Regions from separate parts of the Homo sapiens genome. Here all the other regions are linked to region 2. Evidence: promoter capture Hi-C in 16 types of primary human blood cells and fetal thymus (Javierre and others, 2016). All regions are on one chromosome and are shown on one strand. Each heading gives the region's core, a stretch centred on a gene start or on the middle of the fragment in contact. The rest is flanking DNA. Distances are from core to core; before and after follow the strand shown. Region 1 overlaps ALG14 (ALG14 UDP-N-acetylglucosaminyltransferase subunit). Region 2 holds the start of F3 (coagulation factor III, tissue factor). Region 3 overlaps SLC44A3 (solute carrier family 44 member 3). Region 4 overlaps SLC44A3 (solute carrier family 44 member 3). Region 5 holds the start of CNN3 (calponin 3). Region 6 overlaps ALG14 (ALG14 UDP-N-acetylglucosaminyltransferase subunit).

What was found. The method cuts DNA at HindIII sites, captures the fragments that hold promoters and counts their contacts. A CHiCAGO score of 5 or more calls a contact.
Region 1: a contact is called between a fragment that was not itself captured here and the fragment with the promoter of F3 in region 2, in 1 of 17 cell types (endothelial precursors). The highest score is 5.5, in endothelial precursors.
Region 3: a contact is called between a fragment that was not itself captured here and the fragment with the promoter of F3 in region 2, in 1 of 17 cell types (monocytes). The highest score is 5.6, in monocytes.
Region 4: a contact is called between a fragment that was not itself captured here and the fragment with the promoter of F3 in region 2, in 1 of 17 cell types (endothelial precursors). The highest score is 6.8, in endothelial precursors.
Region 5: the fragment with the promoter of CNN3 here is called in contact with the fragment with the promoter of F3 in region 2 in 2 of 17 cell types (endothelial precursors and erythroblasts); the score reaches 8.0 in endothelial precursors.
Region 6: a contact is called between a fragment that was not itself captured here and the fragment with the promoter of F3 in region 2, in 1 of 17 cell types (endothelial precursors). The highest score is 5.4, in endothelial precursors.

Annotation. Positions count from the first base shown.
Region 1 is chr1:95,035,439-95,038,138 of GRCh38, forward strand. The region is part of intron 2 of ALG14 (ALG14 UDP-N-acetylglucosaminyltransferase subunit); the gene reads right to left. Among named protein-coding and RNA genes, the nearest start is that of ALG14-AS1, 25 kb to the right of the region's middle. The HindIII fragment of the contact is 291 bases long and covers 1,291-1,581 here.
Region 2 is chr1:94,540,132-94,543,054 of GRCh38, forward strand. F3 (coagulation factor III, tissue factor) reads right to left here and starts at 1,628. Exons shown (of 6, transcript NM_001993.5): 1 at 1,406-1,628; 2 at 126-237. The coding sequence starts at 1,505. It overlaps LOC124904223 (a long non-coding RNA gene), which reads left to right and starts at 1,843. Exons shown (of 2, transcript XR_007066234.1): 1 at 1,843-2,923. RefSeq lists a silencer at 1,548-1,827. The HindIII fragment of the contact is 2,211 bases long and covers 361-2,571 here.
Region 3 is chr1:94,840,542-94,843,473 of GRCh38, forward strand. SLC44A3 (solute carrier family 44 member 3) reads left to right here. Exons shown (of 15, transcript NM_001114106.3): 8 at 1,459-1,583. Among named protein-coding and RNA genes, the nearest start is that of SLC44A3, 22 kb to the left of the region's middle. The HindIII fragment of the contact is 8,969 bases long and covers 1-2,932 here.
Region 4 is chr1:94,861,773-94,864,515 of GRCh38, forward strand. The region is part of intron 10 of SLC44A3 (solute carrier family 44 member 3); the gene reads left to right. Among named protein-coding and RNA genes, the nearest start is that of SLC44A3, 43 kb to the left of the region's middle. The HindIII fragment of the contact is 1,558 bases long and covers 600-2,157 here.
Region 5 is chr1:94,925,680-94,928,534 of GRCh38, forward strand. CNN3 (calponin 3) reads right to left here and starts at 1,431. Exons shown (of 7, transcript NM_001839.5): 1 at 1,159-1,431. The coding sequence starts at 1,215. It overlaps CNN3-DT (CNN3 divergent transcript), which reads left to right and starts at 681. Exons shown (of 3, transcript NR_168377.1): 1 at 681-1,061. RefSeq lists silencers at 539-968, 1,069-1,948. The HindIII fragment of the contact is 4,662 bases long and covers 1-2,537 here.
Region 6 is chr1:95,013,600-95,016,339 of GRCh38, forward strand. All of the region lies in intron 3 of ALG14 (ALG14 UDP-N-acetylglucosaminyltransferase subunit), which reads right to left. Among named protein-coding and RNA genes, the nearest start is that of ALG14-AS1, 47 kb to the right of the region's middle. The HindIII fragment of the contact is 637 bases long and covers 1,130-1,766 here.

The DNA of each region.
Region 1 (2,700 bases), core at 186-2,685, 500 kb after region 2:
TGTATGCCCACAAGGCCTCCCAACGCTCCCTATATGAACTTGACTGATGTATAATCAAATATATGGTGGCAAGAGAGACAAGAAAAGTAGGATGCTGAAGAGTGAAAAAACAGAGAAATGGATTTTGTTCAGGCTTCTAGTGTCTGATAGTATATGAAACACTGAGTTAAATACTAACAGTATATGACAACTTGTAACTTTCAAAGTATGTTCCAGAATTACATCACTGTTAAAAACCACAAACATATCTGGCTTTAGATTTGTGAAAACTAAATAGGAGTTTATAGTGATTTAGATGGAAATAATTCCACCAAAGAATCCAGATGGCATCATAAACCACAACAGAGGAGATCAAGTGGTTGATGAAGTCATTCTTTGCTGTTACCACACACTGAAACATACAATACCTTTATTATTTAGTGAATGCCACACGACTGAAAAGTCCTGGAAACAAGACAAAGTTAAAATGGTAAAATTTCATTCAACCAAAAATGGTTTCAGCTTTCTTTCATAACTATTTAAAAATAATGCAATGTATATTTTTAAATGTATGTTGGATGGTTCAACTAATCATTATGAAATCAAGATGACCATAATTTACCACAAAATTTTTTTTTATATGTCCTTCAAGTACTTGGTAGATACTTTATGGTGCTGATGAAATGCCATGAAGTGTCATATAAGTGAGGGTGCTGTGGGCCCCTGATATAGTTTGGTTGTGTCCCCACCCAAGTCTCATCTTGAATTGTAGTTCCCATAACCCCCATGGGAAGGACCAAGTGGAGATAATTGAATCATGGGGGCAGTTCCCCTGTGATAGTGCGTTAGTTCTCATGAGTTCTGATGGTTTTATAAGGGGCTTCCCCCTTTGCTGGGCACTTATTCTCCCTCCTGTCACCCTGTGAAGAGGTGCCTTCCACCATGATTCCAAGTTTCCTGAGGCCTCCCCAGCCATGTGGAACTGTGAGTCAATTAAACCTCTTTTTTTTTTTTTTTTTTTTTTTTTGAGATGGAGTCTCACTCTGTTGCCCAGGTTGGGGTGCAGTGGTGCGATCTCGGCTCACTGCAACCTCCACAACCCAAATTCAAGCAATTCTCCAGCCTCAGCCTCTCAAGTAGTTGGGATTACAGGTATGCGCCACCATACCCGGCTAATTTTTGTAGTTTTAGTAGAGACGGGGTTTCACCATGTTGGCCAGGATGGTCTCAAACTCCTGATTTCAGGTGATCCGCCCACCTCGACCTCCCAAAGTGCTGGGATTAAGGGCGTGAGCCACCGCGCCTGGCCCAAGCTTCTTTTCTTTATAAATTACCCAGTCTCGGGCAGTTCTTTATAGCAGCATGAGAACAGACTAATACAGTCCCATGATGGGTCCTGCTGATAACCACTTACTTTGCATGAATCAAGCTCTCTGGACCTCAGTGTCCCACTGTGAAGCAAGGAGGGCTAGCTGAGATCAGGGATCCTTAACTAGCCACCATGATCCCACAGCTGGCTCAAGACTGGCTTGTCAAAGAGAAATGAGGCTGCACTCCAGCTCTGCCCCAGGGCCTGAAACCACCCCTCACTTTACCTCCAGAAGCTTCTCCTTGCCTGGTGGTCTGAGACTTCAGGGAAAAACAAAGTAGTTTGTTTCTGAAAAAATTATGGGATTCTGGCTCAAAAGATTTTTAAAGCCTTTTATAAATGCACATTTATTCTCTCTCAGCCTTTATTGACTCCTTCTTTTGACAATATCGCAATTTTCCTTTGGGTAACTCATTCCTCTCATATTCTCAGCCGGACGGTTTGGTGGTATTTGCCTCCTGTCCCCTTCACCCCTAACCCTGCCTCTAAGAGTAGGCCTGGAATGGCTGAAGCAACATGGAGGAATCATTCCTGGCTACAATGATTAGCTGAAAGATGGGAGTATAACCCCACTGGAGTACCATGAGGCAGGAGATGTTTGCTGGGGCTCTCTCTCCCATATGCTGTAAGAGATCCTCTTCTTCCTCATGAAGAGGAAGAGACATGAGGCCAGGAGGTGCTACAGGTTTTTGTTACCCTAATGAGAGAGCTTGGAGCTGCTGGAGGCAGCACTGTGGGAAGCCCGGTGGAGCTGCCACTGCAGAAGACAGAGCAGAGAGACAACTCTTGCTATAGGGATATGCCTGGGCAACCGGACCAAGCCTCGCCAGAAATAAGACTGAATTTTTCCTGTTTTGTAAGTTGACAAATTCCCTTTATTGTTCAAGCCAATTTTAAGCGTAGGTTTATGTCACTTGAAGTTGAAGCACCCTTCCTTTGTCCTTAAAATGGTAAGAAAATTGCATTCCTTTTCTTAAAATAAAATATATATATTAAAATCATGTATGAAACAATTGTTTACGACATTGAATTTCAGAGCTGTACTCTCTAAGCATGGATTCATTCACTTGTTTCTTCATTAAACTTTCAACAAGCACCTGCCAGGTGACAGGAACTGGGCTAGGGAAACAGAGGTGAATAAGACATTCACAAGGAACTCACTGCAGTCTATCAGGACAGCACAGGAAAAGTGATAATTGCAGTCAAAGGGATAACTATAATATGAGACAATTATTAAATATAATGTTAGCACCAAGTAAGAAGTAATAAACTGGACCAGGTGCGGTGGTTCACACCTGTAATCCCAGCACTTTGGGAGGCCAAGATACGTGGATTGCCTGAAGGTCAAGAGT
Region 2 (2,923 bases), core at 378-2,877:
ATCCCTTCTTCTTCGTCATCTGTTAAATAATTTCATCCAGTAATCAGCTTTAAAGACATTCTTGTTCAGCATAGGACAGTAGAAACATCAAAGACCTTAATTTTCTTTTTCTGTACCCAGCTTACCTTATTTGAACAGTGTAGACTTGATTGACGGGTTTGGGTTCCCACTCCAAAATTGTCTTGAAATTAGTTGATTTCCAAGTTAAATTATATGCTGCCACAGTATTTGTAGTGCCTTTAAACAACAGAGAAACAGCTATTATTACATGCACTTCAGAGCACTCGAATGTATTGATGTATAAAACACCTTCCCACCTGACATCACCATAAACCTCACTTTTTATTTTTCAACCACAAAAGCTTCATTAGTGAATTATCAAGAGAAAAAGAATCTTCAAATTTTTTCTAGACCTAGAATTTCTTCATGACAAGATTCACCTTGTAATCCCAGGACACCGGCAAGGATCTTGACATTTTCGTTTGAAATTATTCATGGGCAAAGCCTTGTTATAACTTGACCGGGAAGAGCCCAGAGCCATCAGTGTGCCAGTCCAGGACTCAGCTCAGGAAGAGTCAGGTTCAGCCCGCCAGGAAGGGTTTTCAGTAAGTTATGGAAAAAGATAAATCCCACACGTGTGACAAGAGTTAGGACTGCATACAAATGAAAAAAGCCAAACTTCACTTTTTCCACTTTTATCTGAAATGTCGCTACACTGAAACTTCCACAGAGACCCACGGGGACGTGTGGCCTGTCACACCGTCGGCTGTATTGGATCAGGATTATTTCTTATGAAGGTCTGCTTTGCCAGTACGCAGCAGGTCCCAGTCTCTACGCCGTCCCGAACACCTCGTAGAAATACGGGGCATGCACAACGTTGTACCTGCTCCAATCTAAGCAGCAATCCAGCCCTTTTGGATTGCCTCTACCCAAACCTAGAACAAAGATGGCCAGGAAAAGACCAGGGACGCTCTTTATTAAGGGAAGATGCACATATAATGAAAGATAATATCCAAACCTCTGCACGCCAACACGTGCAGACGCAGGCACAAGTCCTATCATATTGAAGGTCGCAACTCACTGGGAAGCCCTTTCCCCAGAGTTAAAGCGGGAGCTAAAAGTCCGCTTATGCAACAACAGTCCAATTACTCGGACACCCCGAGCAAAACTCTCCAGCGGAAGGGGCAGCGGGGTCTGGGGCGCCAACTCCCTCCCTGCAACTCCCGCCGGCGCCCGACGGACTCGGTTCATTCAAGCCGGGCTGGGTGAGCGCAGCCGAGTCCCGTAGGCGCGGGGGACAACATGGGCGCCCCGGGGAACCAGGGCGAGCCCGCTGCCAGCCAGGACTGTCGCCTCCCTCCTGCGTGTGGCGCGCCCCGGGCTTCCAGGGGCTGGTGCCACTCACCTGAAGCGCCGGCCACCTGGGCGAAGACCCAGCCGAGCAGGAGCGTCCGAGCGACGGCGGTCTCGGGGCGCGGGACCCGGGGCCAGGCAGGGGTCTCCATGTCTACCAGTTGGCGGCGAGATCGAGCGGGTTCCGTGGCGCCCGTGGGGCTGGGGAGGTTGGGCTGAAGGCGCCCTGGGCCGGCCAGAGGGAGTGCGAGGGGGTGCGGGGAGCTCGCAGTCTTGGGGAGCCGGTGCCCCGCGCGCTATAAAGGGCCGGCGGCGCGCTCTCCCGCGCCTCTGCCCGCCCCCGGCGCCCGCCCCCGCCGCTCCTCCCGACTCCCCGCCCCCGGCCCGGGTCACTTGCCGTCGCGGTGGGCGGCCCCCGGCGAGTCCACACCCCTGCCCCGCCTCCTCCCGGTAGGAAACTCCGGGACCCTGCAAGGGATGACTCACCCCAGTGATTCAACCGCGCCACCGAGCGCGGAGCTGCCCTGGAGGACGCAGGCGGGTCTAGTTGCCCGGGTCCCCCAAGGCCCCCGGATTCACCCAGGCCCGCGACTCCGACGTGCAGCTTAGGTGGGTTGCAGGTCTATGGCAGGAAAGGGAGGGCGCCTTGGAAGAATTCTTCCCTTCCATTTGGTGATAAAGTGGGAGAGGCGGCATTTACAACATTTAATAGAAAGCACGGGCTCTGGGCTCCCCTCGGGCAGCGGAGGGCATTTCCCGGATGCTTTGCCCACCTGGGGCAGAAGCTCGGGACCTGCAGCGAAGTAAACGTGTGGCTGTGAGCAGGGCCCTCTCCCAGCCACGGTGGCTTCTTCTACCCCACGAAGGTCAAGAATACCTGGCCTGCCCACCTCGCGGGGCCCTTAGCGGGTCGCACAGGAGAAAGGCGGTGGGAATGCCGGTGTCAGCCACGGTGTGACCGGCTCGGCTCACAGGTCTGAGGGTCAGTTGGCTCAGGCATCGCCCGGTACGACCAGAGATAGTGACTGAGGAAGAGCAGCCTCACATCTGGCAGTTTGCCTCTGGGAGAATTCCAGCGTGACATCTGCAGCTCTGTGGTTCCAGAAAGGATGGTTCCCACATTGAAGAAGACATCTGTGGGACTGAGTTCCACCGAAATGCAGAGGAACCAAAAATGAAAATGAAAAATGTAACCAGAGTTGTGTGCCACTAGTTTTAAGCTTTGGTTTTTCTAAATTATTTTCTGGCTTCTCCTTCTGGGCTTTGCTGTAAACTTGCCAAGCATGAGAACAACTCTTCATCTATTGAGTGGCATTTTAAGCCATCCTGTCAAAGTATCTCCTGTCATTTTTATTATTATTACTCTATATTGCCTGCAAGACACGACTGGAGAATTCTTAGTGTAAGAATTGTTTGTTTCCTCTCTCCTTCTTTCCCACGTTTTCCCAGGGAAGTCAGTCTTGCATTTTAATGCATACTATATACATATCTCGTTTAGCTTACTGAACCACTTGTTTTAACAGAATAAAACTGTGCAAAATTTTAATTTTCCTCCTTTGCCTGAACTGAA
Region 3 (2,932 bases), core at 312-2,811, 300 kb after region 2:
GGCCTCCCAAAGTGCTGGGATTACAGGTATGAGTCACCACGTCCAGCCATATCTGTAGTTTCTTCTGCTGTGCTATGCTGCCCCTGAGATGAGCTTTCCAATACCGTGATCCTGTATCCATAACGTTAAAAGAGAATCCCAGTACCCACTGGGAGCATTTTAAAGGATTTCTTCTGAATGCGCACCTCACCCATTGGCACGTGGGTGCCCACAGTTGTCATGTAAAGGTTCTGACCAGCCAGAAGACACACAGGCCTGCATGGAAGCAGAGTCCTGGAGACCCTGTACTGTGCCCATATTTCCCTCCCGGTTGCTGGATTGTGGATCTCACCAGCAGTTGTTGGGAAAGAGGTCCGAGGGACAAGGGCACGCAGGAGGCTCAAGGCAGCAGCCATTTACCAACTGGTGTGGGGTACAATCAGGTGTCACTTAATGACAGGAAGGGATGTGTTCTGAGAAATGCATCACTCAGCAATTTCCTCATTGTGTGAACATCACAGGGTGCACTTACACAAACCTAGATGGTAGAGCCTACTACACACCCAGGCACATGGTATAACCTATTACTCCTAGGCTACGAACCTGCACAGCATGCTACTGTACAGAATACGGTTGGCAGCTGTAACAGAATGGTCAGTATTTGTGTATCTAAACACATCTAAGCACAGAAAAGTACAGTATTATTAATCTCATGAACCACCATCATATATGCAGTCCATTGTTGATCAAAATGTCATCATGCAGTGGATGACTATATTTTAATTTTTAAAAACTGATGTGATTGTCATGTTTCTTTCCCCTGAGTCATCAGCTCTGCCCTCAGCAACTTAGAGCCCTGTAGCCCTGTGTCGGAGGACAGGCACAATGACTTCTGAGGGTTGTTTCTTCCTGTCCACTCCAACCTTCCTATAGTTACTGTGGATATGGCATAAGGTGGTATTTCGTACCTAAATGTGGAGTACTTGCAATGTCAGGGCATCTTCCAAATGAGCTTCTGACTTCCATGATTCCCACAGGCCGTGTAAATTTTCCTGGTTTTGTGGGTGAGCAGCCAATATCCAGGCTCCACAGGAGTTATCACCACCAGAGCTTGCTTAAAACATTTAGACAGTGAGCTCTGGCATTGTCCCTCTCACCATCCTGTCCATGGGGTTTTCCTCCTGCTCGCATCCAGACCCAACCTGTGGGTTAGGTGCCTGTGTTCTGGGGTCACCATCCTGGGTCTCCCAAAACAAGCATCATCCCAGAACTTGTGGGTCCTCTATGGGTTGCCCTGGCTCTGCCCAGCTTCTCCAGAGGGCAGCAGTTGCTTGTAGGGTCCGGGTATTTGGGACCCACTGCCAGAGCAGTGCCACGCGGCCGGTGGGCAGTGGCTGGACTTCCTGTGTGATTCTGTGTGCTGGGGAAAGGTTACCTCATGGCGTGTGCCCTGAGCTCTGCTACTGTTCTCTTTTCTAGTTGTCTGCGGTGTTTTATGGTGGCTGTATTATGACTATACCAACGACCTCAGCATAGAATTGGACACAGAAAGGGAAAATATGAAGTGCGTGCTGGGGTTTGCTATCGTATCCACAGGCATCACGGTAAGAAATGCTCTTCTAGCAGTAGGTCAGGTAGCCAGCCAGGACTCTGAAATCCAAATCATTGAATTCTAGCCAAAAACAACTATAATTTGTTTTTCTTTTGATTTAGAATGTGCCTTCTTTGGATTTGAGATACCTGTATAGGGATAATTCAAAACTCTTCAAAAATAAGAAAAAAAGGTTTTAGTTCTTCCCAAGTCATTTCTGCCACCTCCCAGAGACTACTGTGTTATCCTTGCTGTTGCACTGTTCTCAGCCCCAAGGGGCTACAAGGTGGGCATGGTGGGTGGGCGGAGGCAGGCTTACGGCAGTTCCCATTCCCTGTTTGTGAGGTGCGGCTCCCCTTTGCCAGTGTATGCTCAGCTTCCGCTGCCCTCTAGCACACAGAGCCCTTTGTTTCCAAACCCGCTGGCCACTGGGTTATTTTGGTGTTCAGAGAACTTGCTGCCTCCTCAGTGAACTCTCTAGCTGAAAACAGGCTGACTTAGAATATTGAGGGAGCAGGTATTAGTTACTGGTGGTGGGTGGTTGGCAACCAAATGTCATTCAGGACCCTCTCCAGGGGCCGTTAGGAAGGCTCAAATCACAAGGCCCTGGGGCGGACCCCACACTGGCTTCAGGTCCCCCAGAGTCGTCGTTGCTGGTGTGTTGCTTACTGACTGTTCTGTGGAGCAGCTGCAGCCAGGGGTTTCCACAAGCCCATTGAATCTTGCAGCAAATGCAGATTCTCACACCAACAAAATTCTCTCATAGGAAATCCTTCTATTCTCATATTTGGTAGTTTTCACATTTTCTCCTTTCCACGGTGAGGTTTTGGGTTTGTGATCTTCACATAAAATGTGCCAGGGAGTAAGGGTACAATAAAGTAAAGCACCTGGTTGCTCTCGCCTCAGGCAGGGACCAGACCAGACACTCAACAGAGTCTGCAGAGGAGGCTGGAGATGAAAGGGCTTCCCCATTCCCCAGGCTGGGCATAGGGGAAGAGGAGCAGGGCTGGGGGCTGGGGAGGGTCCAGTTCCTCCGTCTACCCTCCACAGGGCTCCCTTTTTGTTTGTACACTGCACCATTTATGCCACCCAGATTTCAGGGCCGGGGCAAGGTTAGGGAGAGGGGAGGCCATGTGAGCAGGGAGGCTGTTTTCACCTGGGTCCATGAGTTCTGCACAGGGGCTACTCTATAAGGCAGAATTGAGTCCCAGCTCACCTCCCGTTCATTTGTTGTGAGTTCTTACCAATTCCCGGTTGCTAGATGAGCTAGTTCACTCATCCTCAGAAAAGCCCAGATGGAAGTTCCTCCTCAGCCTTTACAACTGAAGGGTCTCCTCTGGGTGTCTTGCGGGGCCTCTCCTG
Region 4 (2,743 bases), core at 129-2,628, 320 kb after region 2:
ATCAGGTACCAGGATATGGGCAATCTGTAGAATTTACTTTTTACAACCATTTGCTTGAAGAAGGATCAACTGAGAGCCATAAAGGTGGTGTTAGGGATGTGATAGGAAGGAGCTAGAACCCTTCAGGGTGGTGGAGGGACACTTGAGGTGTGACTTCATCATCATTTTCAAATATACAAAAGAGGGTTTCCAGCTGCTCTATATCTACAGATGGAGAAGAGGAAATGGATTCATAGCAGAGCCTAAGGAATTTAGGTAGAGATAGATGAATTTCCTAACCTAGCAAGAGTTACCCAGGCCAGCTAAAGAATCCTCTTCTTTCTAATAAAGACGATTTTCATTTTCTGTAGAATAGGAAAGAAACATACAACCTTCTCAGCCCTCCAAACCCCATCTTGCAGTGATTTTGTTGTAAGAAATACTGGAAGAGACATGGTCTCTACAGGGACCACACAGTCCTTTGCTGGGACCAGCTTTACGTTGGAGGCCATTTGTCCCATGCAGCCCACACCTAGTCCAGGAGCCTCAGCACAAAATTAATTCTCCATAATGTCAGAAGAGTTTTTAGTGAGCACGAGGCTGGATCTAACTAGAGCCAAAGCTTGTCTCTAGGACCATGATGCGGCTTGCCTGGCTGTATGCACTCTGTTGTCTGATGGGAGTAGAAATTACAAAACAGTACTTTGTACCATGACCCAAAGGTGTTAGAGGACTTGGATGGATGGGACCATTAAACCCTTTGCCCCACAGCTTGGATTGATGTGGTATTTTGGGCAACTGGCTTCGTTGTTCTGGGAGCCAGGCACCATTAGCACTCAAAGCAGCCACACATCCAAAGGAAGGGGGAAGCTGGGCTTCATGGGGCATATGCTAGAGTCGCCTTACCCTCTAACACTGCCCGTGTCTTCCTTATTGCCACTACCCACAGAATTGGGGTGGATGTGGTCCAGTGGGAAGATCTAGAGAGAGATGAGGAAGGCTGACTGGGGGCCCAGTCCTCCCCAGCCTCCTAATACACTCATCGCTGGGTTGCCCCATATGCTCAACACTGGAATGTTGTCCCCCAGGTCAATTCTTAAAATATGAATAAGTCCAGAGGTAAGTATTATATTTAGCATCACTGGGTGTGTCAGATCCTCTTCCTGAAGGCAGGTTTGGCTGGTTGTGAGGGAGACAGAGCTGGAGGCACTAGCCCCACACACAGCAGGGGAGAGGTGGTAGGATGACGTTACCTTTGAACATGGAAATGAGTCTGAGACTAGGTGGGGGCCTCAGAGACACACCACTTCATTAGCCTTTTTTTTCTGTAGGGCTGTTTCTAGTTTTGAGGGCAGGTATTGAGTGACTCCTGGCTCCAAGAGCTGGCTTGGGTTGAAAGGGCCCTCTTTTTAAGTTCCGTCTCCCATCACGTGATAACCCAGCTTCTGGAACCTCTGCATCTTCTTCCAGCCAAGCCAGGCAGAGCCTCCAGCCATAACCAGGATGTGTTACAGACTAGGGAAGCTGAGGCAGTGCAGGTACTCCTCTGCCTGAAGTGGTTAACCCCATCACAGTGAAACCTCAGAAAGCTGATGCCTAACCCCAAACTCTAATACCTGGAGGGCTAACCCCAAGGCCCTCATTCACAGAGGCCTATGAATCATGTGTTTCCCTACCAGATGGAAAGCAGGTGTTGTCCTCTTCTCCCTGCCTCCCCTCTTGAGCACCATAATAAGTTCTAAGGCACACAAATCTCCTCAATGGAAAAGTAAACGTTCTTCCTTAAAAAAAAAGAAAAATGAGGGAAGGGAAAAAAAAGTGTGTCAGATTTTCCTGGCCTACACTACTCTTCTAGTTTATCAGATCTAAATGAATTCCTATTAGCAATAGCTTCCGTGGTTTTTCCTACTTTAAATAACACTGTGTTGAAACACACATCCTTTTTTTTTGTGGGACAACTGGGTTGCAGTTTTTCAGCTCCCAATATTACTTTCATGTTCTCTTTTTCTTCCTGGCTGATTTGAGTAACAGCAAAATGCAGCCATTGCCAACTCTTGAAACATTTCTGGCTGCCTTCCTTTTCCTCTCTCAAAACCTAGGCTGCTGTCAAAACCTTAATTCATAGTGACTTATTAGCAACCAGAGCAAGTTGTAGAATAATCCATTATAAAGAAACCAAGCTTCACTTGGAATCTGTGAAGTTGCTTCTCAGAAAGACCTTATTTTCTAGAACTGGCTTCAGCGGGAATTCAAAGGGTCACCCGTGGGGTGGCATCAGCCCCCACTCCTTTGTTTTATCTTTCAGGGTTAGGGGAGAGTGATGGCTGTGCCCATTCTGTTCTTTCTCACTTTTTTTTCCCTGCCTGTGAAACTGACTTGTACACATTCTTGGGAGCTGCGTCATGACAAGTCCCGTAAATGATTCACACTGAAGTGACCTTTAAAGAGCAGAGTAGAAACCAGCAGGATTTGGGGAGCCTAGAGCTGTGTAGGAGCCAAGCACCCAGGGCTTTCTGTCCCTTTCCTGTAAGTGGGAGCTCACTATTACCTCTCTGGCCACTGATCCTGGTCATGTGATTTGGTGATGATTTTTAATCACCAGGTGAATGCTGGCAATATTTATGTATACTCCTGTGTAAGTTAAACCTTGGAGATTGTGCCGCAATTAAAATTCTGAAAGTGAAAATGAGATGAATAGGCACCCTAAAGGGTTGGTGGATGGGCTCTGCATTATGAAGAGGGAAACTTTTTTAACTCATCAATT
Region 5 (2,855 bases), core at 181-2,680, 390 kb after region 2:
TGTTCCAGCTCTGACAATGCCAGTGCCTTCCACCAGCGGTCGGACGGTGCGGTGGCAATCCTGACATGCTTGGGCTCCCGGGAGGTTAATGGGAATTAAACCACAGGCAGCCCTCCTTTGTGGCGCTTTGGCCAGAACAGCAGAAAGGAGACAATGAGCGTTCTGTGCACAGTTCCGCGCCGATTGGCTGGTCTCTCCCCCCAGAAACCCCTGATGTCATGGGCTTGGAATGCAGGGAGGGAGGAAGGAAGGAGAGGATTTGGGGAGGGGGACGCCTCTCATCTCTTTCCCAGGCCAAAAGTCCTAAAGATAAACCTAACGCATTCTTGGGCTCAGTGGCAAAGCTGAGCGTCACCAAATCCCAATCGCTCCAAACTATAAGCCGCCTCAGCAAACAAGCCCCAAACAAAAGCAACCCACAAAAATAATCCTTTATGTCGTGAAAGTCTAATGTACTTCAAACTTCTCAGTGTTTCATAAAAAGTCTCAAGCCTAAGCAGATATCACTCGCACAGTGGCGCGCTCAGGCTTTGTCTCCATTTCCCGCAAAAGCAACAGCAGAAGCAGCAGCAGCAATCTGCCTCCAAATGCCTCCCAGGCACCGAGATCGGAGACTGTGATGGGTCCCGGACCGGCTTCCGTTCCTCGGGGCCCCTGGGGTCGGCGGGACATTAGGCGGTCTCTCTCCCCGTGGGGAGGCGCGGAGTCCGCCAGCACCCGGGGCCCGGGCAGATGGCGGGGGCTGCGGCAGCGGCTCGCCGGGTCCCTGGCCGCGCAGACGGGCTCCGCCTAAGGGCGAGTGGCCACGCAGGAGCGCCCCCTTCCCGGAGGGCGCGTTCTGCAGTCACCAAACGGCCCCCGAGACCCCCGCAGCCGGAAAGGCTGGCGCCGCGGGACTCCAGGCGCCCGGGAACCCACCGCCAGCCACTAGTCCTGTCCCACGGCGCGGGAACAAAGCCAGGCGGGTGCCCGGGAGCCGGCCCCGCAAGCCCGGGGACTGGACGCGACCGGGACAGGCAGAGACGCTCGCGCCGCCTCGACGGCCCCTCTCCAGGAAAACGGTGAGCCACAGCGCGAAGAGCAAACGAAGCACGGCCCAGCGCCAGGCCAGCCCAAGGGTGCCCCGGGGGCCCCCGCGCCCGCCCGAGCCAGGCGTACCTTGTTCTTGACTTCGGCCGAGAGCCCATAGGAAGGGCCCTTGTTGAAGTGGGTCATGGTGGTTCGGGCGGCGGGAAGAGACAGCGCTGGGGTCCGGGGTCTCTCGCACTTCGCTTCCCCGCTCCTGGCCCCGAGGAGTGGCCGCCGCGGGGGATGCTCGAACTCCCTCCTCTGGGAGGCGCAGGAGACGGCCGCGGGGCGCGGGCGGTGCCTGGGCGACTGGGTCCAACTGGGTGCTACAGAGCCTCGAGCTCCGCTGCGAAGCACCCGGCTGCCTCGCTCGCCGCCCGCACCTCGGTTCCCCACAGGCCGCCCCCGCCTCCGCCTGGGCCTTCGAGGATTGGCCGCCGGGCCCGACCAATGGAGGGCCGCCTCCTCCCGCCTCTGCGCCGAGGGGCGGTGCGGCCAATTGAAGGGCCGCGGGGGCCGCTTTCCCTCCCGCTCCCTCCCCGCGAGGTCCCCGGCCCCCGCCCCAGCCCTCACGCCACCGGGGCCGGCGGCTAGGCGGCCCCGCCCCCGGGCTAGGCAGGGCGCCTGGGGGCTTCCCAGCCACAGGCCATTCACGTCAACCTCCAGGCATCCTCCGCGGCGGGCCGGACCGGGCCGGCGGAGGGGAGCGGAAGCCCACCGGGGCTGGCCCGCCGCTGACCCGCCGCCTCCGTCTGCCTCCTCCCGGGCTCTGGGCCCAGCGCGCCCAGATGCCGGGCAGGACCCCTCCGCCCGCTGCTGGAACACCAATAGCAGCGTTGGAGCCTCTGGGCCGGAGGAACTGGGGCCTCCACCGACACCTGCTTCTTCCCTCACCTCGCAGCCTTCCACACCTGTTGATCTGACCTCTGCCCCGCTGCCGCCCAGGAGTAACCTAAGGCTTTTGGCCTGATTCGAGCTCACTCCGTCTAAACCTCTAAATGCGGTGCGAAAAAATCCTGGGGAATGTGCCATGCAAAGCCTGGGCATTTCAAGTGCTTTTCTGGATTCGCATCAACTCCTCTTTACAGGCATCTTTATCCGGAATTCAGCTCGTCCCAAACCCCACGTGGTGTAGCTCTGCTTGTGTTTTTGAATCCCGGGGCCTCTTTGAATCAGAAGCCCTTTGTATAGAGATAAGTATCCTTTAGGCCAGAATCAGCCTCCATTTTTTTCGCAGTCCCATTTCCTACCCGTAATACTTTCTTCTGATTTTAAAGCCATTTGATAGAGAAGGGACAGGGAACAGAACCTTCGCCCCCCGCCTGAGCAGCTGGTAGACTAGATATCTTCCAAACATTATCTCATTTACTTCCCTGGAGTTACAAATAGGTAGATTTCATGTCCGTTGAGGGGTGAGAAAGCTGAAACTTTGAGACTTAAGAATCCTGGCCGAGGTCAGCCTCCTCCGAAGCTTCATCTCTTGCCACCACTTTCTGGTGCACACCTAGGACAGATTTCAATCCCTGAGATCCCAGGATGAAACCTATGTTTGCCAAATACCAGCTACTGTGCCAGAAGAGATCATGGAACCAGGTGTGGAAAGCTGCTTGAGAAGAGGAGCCAAAACATCATAGTTGAACCGTCCTGGAATAGAAGTGAGTAAGGTGAACCAGGTGTGGTGGCTCATGCCTGTAATCCTAGCACTTTGGGAGACCGAGGTGGGAGGATTGCTTGAGGCCTGGAGTTCAGGAACATCCTGGGCAACATAGCAAGATCCTGTCTCTACA
Region 6 (2,740 bases), core at 198-2,697, 470 kb after region 2:
TGAGCCAACGTGCCTGGCCAGTTTCCTGTTCTTTTTAATAAAAATACAGCAACCAGGATCTGGATATCTACAATGTTTTGCCAACAACTAAAACAAACAACACCCCAAATCTGTACTGACTCTGCAGACAAAAGAGGTCAAACAATTACTTCAGAGTCTCAAAATTAATTTATAGGCCTAGTGAGAAAACTAGACTAGTCTAGTAGACTAGACTCCAGCTTGGATATTTTACTGTTCTCAGGTTCCAGTGAGATAAAATGCTTCAGCATATATTTTTAGTCATGGGTTATTTTTATTTTATTAGCATTGCCTTTAAATCACTTTTTTCTTAAAAAAAAAAAAAAACCCTTCCAGCATTTCCAAATTTATGATTCCCCACTTGAATTATGCAATTCCATTATGAAGCAATGGTCTATAGTTTACCCTTTATCCAACTTTTATCATTTTTTATTTAGAATCATTCCCAGAAATACAAATTAGCTGATTACTGAACAAGTTCTAATTACTCCCCAGAGACCATGGGAGCTTAGGGTTTCAGTACAGCATTGTTCACTGTTTGGCTGTGAAACAGACTTCCTCCTCTGGTGACTGATCTGTTATTGATTTAAGAACTGACCTAAAGGGCTATTTGTTCTGGGCGCTTTGAAGAGCGTTTGCTTCCCCTGACTTTCAGAACTATTCTGTTGGACATCCTGAAGCCTTAGGCCATAATCTTTACTATGTAGTTTGTGCAGCCTGGAATAATGGAATAGTGGCTAATTAACCTGTTCTCACCCCCAAAATAGGGCCTGTGATTTAAAACACCTCTAAAAAATCACACTGATGCTTCAGTCTGGAACCCTGAGGCAGGTCAATTCTGTTCCCAGTCCAGATCATCCTTCCTTCTTAGCCTCAGACTTGGGGCCATGGCTGGATTCTAGATTACAAACTCTTCTGAGCACAAATTGCCATCTCCATTTCCCATGGTGCCTAGCTCTAGTCTCAGCTCACAGCAGTTACTCAATACAAAATAAAAACAAATTTGTAAATAATTTTTTGAATTATCTACAAATAGTTAAAATTACATGTAAACTTATAATTACAATTATTTACAAATTGATTTATAAATAATTTTTATTTGTAAATAAAAAGCTTATAACAAAATTATGGCTAAATAACTTCAAAGAATAGCTTTGACAAGTAGGTTTTATGATCCCAGAGCAATGACATCAGAAAGTCTTGCACCATATTAATAGTTTCAGGCTATCTTAAGAAATAAAAAGTAATTCAATGAATAGCATTTTGTTTAAGAATTAAGTGAGCATGTTGATGGAATGGCAGCAGAAAAAGACTCGAGTTCCTAAGGCTTCATTATGATTCCTAACCCTTTGCAATCTGAAGAGAGCGCTATACAGTTTTAAACTTGCCACGGCACTCAGAATAGGGGAGGCCTAAGTCCCCCTTCTTTGATAACAAAGAGGGCAGAACACACCTGATAGTGGGTTGGGAGCAAGTCAGGGTAATAAAGGTGAGCCAAGAAGCAGTTCAAGGGGCTTGTGAATGCCATTCACCTCTCAGTGGGATCCAGGAGGGATCAGAGGGTGTTAGCTGAGGACGAGATATTTAACCGAGAGAGATGGAGATCTGCAGGGAGCTGGGACTGGGTGCTGCTAATTTCCATCTGGTAGAACTAGCGTGTTCCAGTTCCTTACTATTCAGTTATTAATCAAAGACCTCTCCAAGCACCTGACACACTGCTAAGCTCCACAGGGATAATAAAGCCAGAAAGCTTGGTTTTTGACTCTTAAAGTACTCACAATCTAATTTGGGGAGGGAGAAAATTCAGCAGAAGTTAAATGACTAGAGAACAATTAAATGCTAAGCTCTAAGTTCAAGAGGAGTTCACAGGAGGGCAAGATCTGGATGGAGTAAAGGTGCAAGACAAAAAGCCTCAGAAGAAGCCTCAAGAAAATGAGGAACCAAACTGGGGAACTAAGGTTGTTTGTAAATCAGGTGCATGTGGATAAGCCCTTCTTGAGAGGGGCGGGTTTGGACGGATGTCCTTGAATGGTGGTCCAGCAGGACAGAGCTGAAATTCATTAGTAAATCCTGACACACTGTTTTTGGAAGCGATGGAGTCTGTGATGAAAATATAAGAGGGCTGGAAAACAAAGAAGACAGAAGCAAATAATCCTTGGTTGTTTCCATGCCTGAAGAGGCTCACTGTGGCATGAAAATCAACATGAAAACAGTCAGAATACCATAGCATCCAAACTGGGCATTGTGTAGACATTCCGTGGTCTAAGTTTTAAAACATTTATTAACTCCTTATTAGCCTCTTGATTTCTGGAAGAGAATATTTAACTTAATGACAAAAGAGGAGAAAGATCCAGCAACCTACCATGGGGGCTTCTTATGCATGAATGTTCACACAAGACTATGAAGTAGATATCATGGTCCCTGTTCTACAGATGAGGAAAAGGAAGTTTATGGAGAATAAACAGCTCACCTAAATTTGTCCAAATGGTAGAGTGGCAGACCTAGATTTTAAACCCTGGTATGCATGTTGCCCAAGCCCATTTTCTCTATCCATGTAGACAGCACCTGATACCCTTCGAGAGAAGAGTCTATGATGTCTCATTTGTTGTGTGGTCAGAGAGCTGAACCTGGAGCTGGGAGTGACAAGAACTGTTTTTTTTTTATTCATGCTTTCCTATTAGTTCTAAGACTTTGGACAAGGCACTCCCTTCTTTTGGTTCTA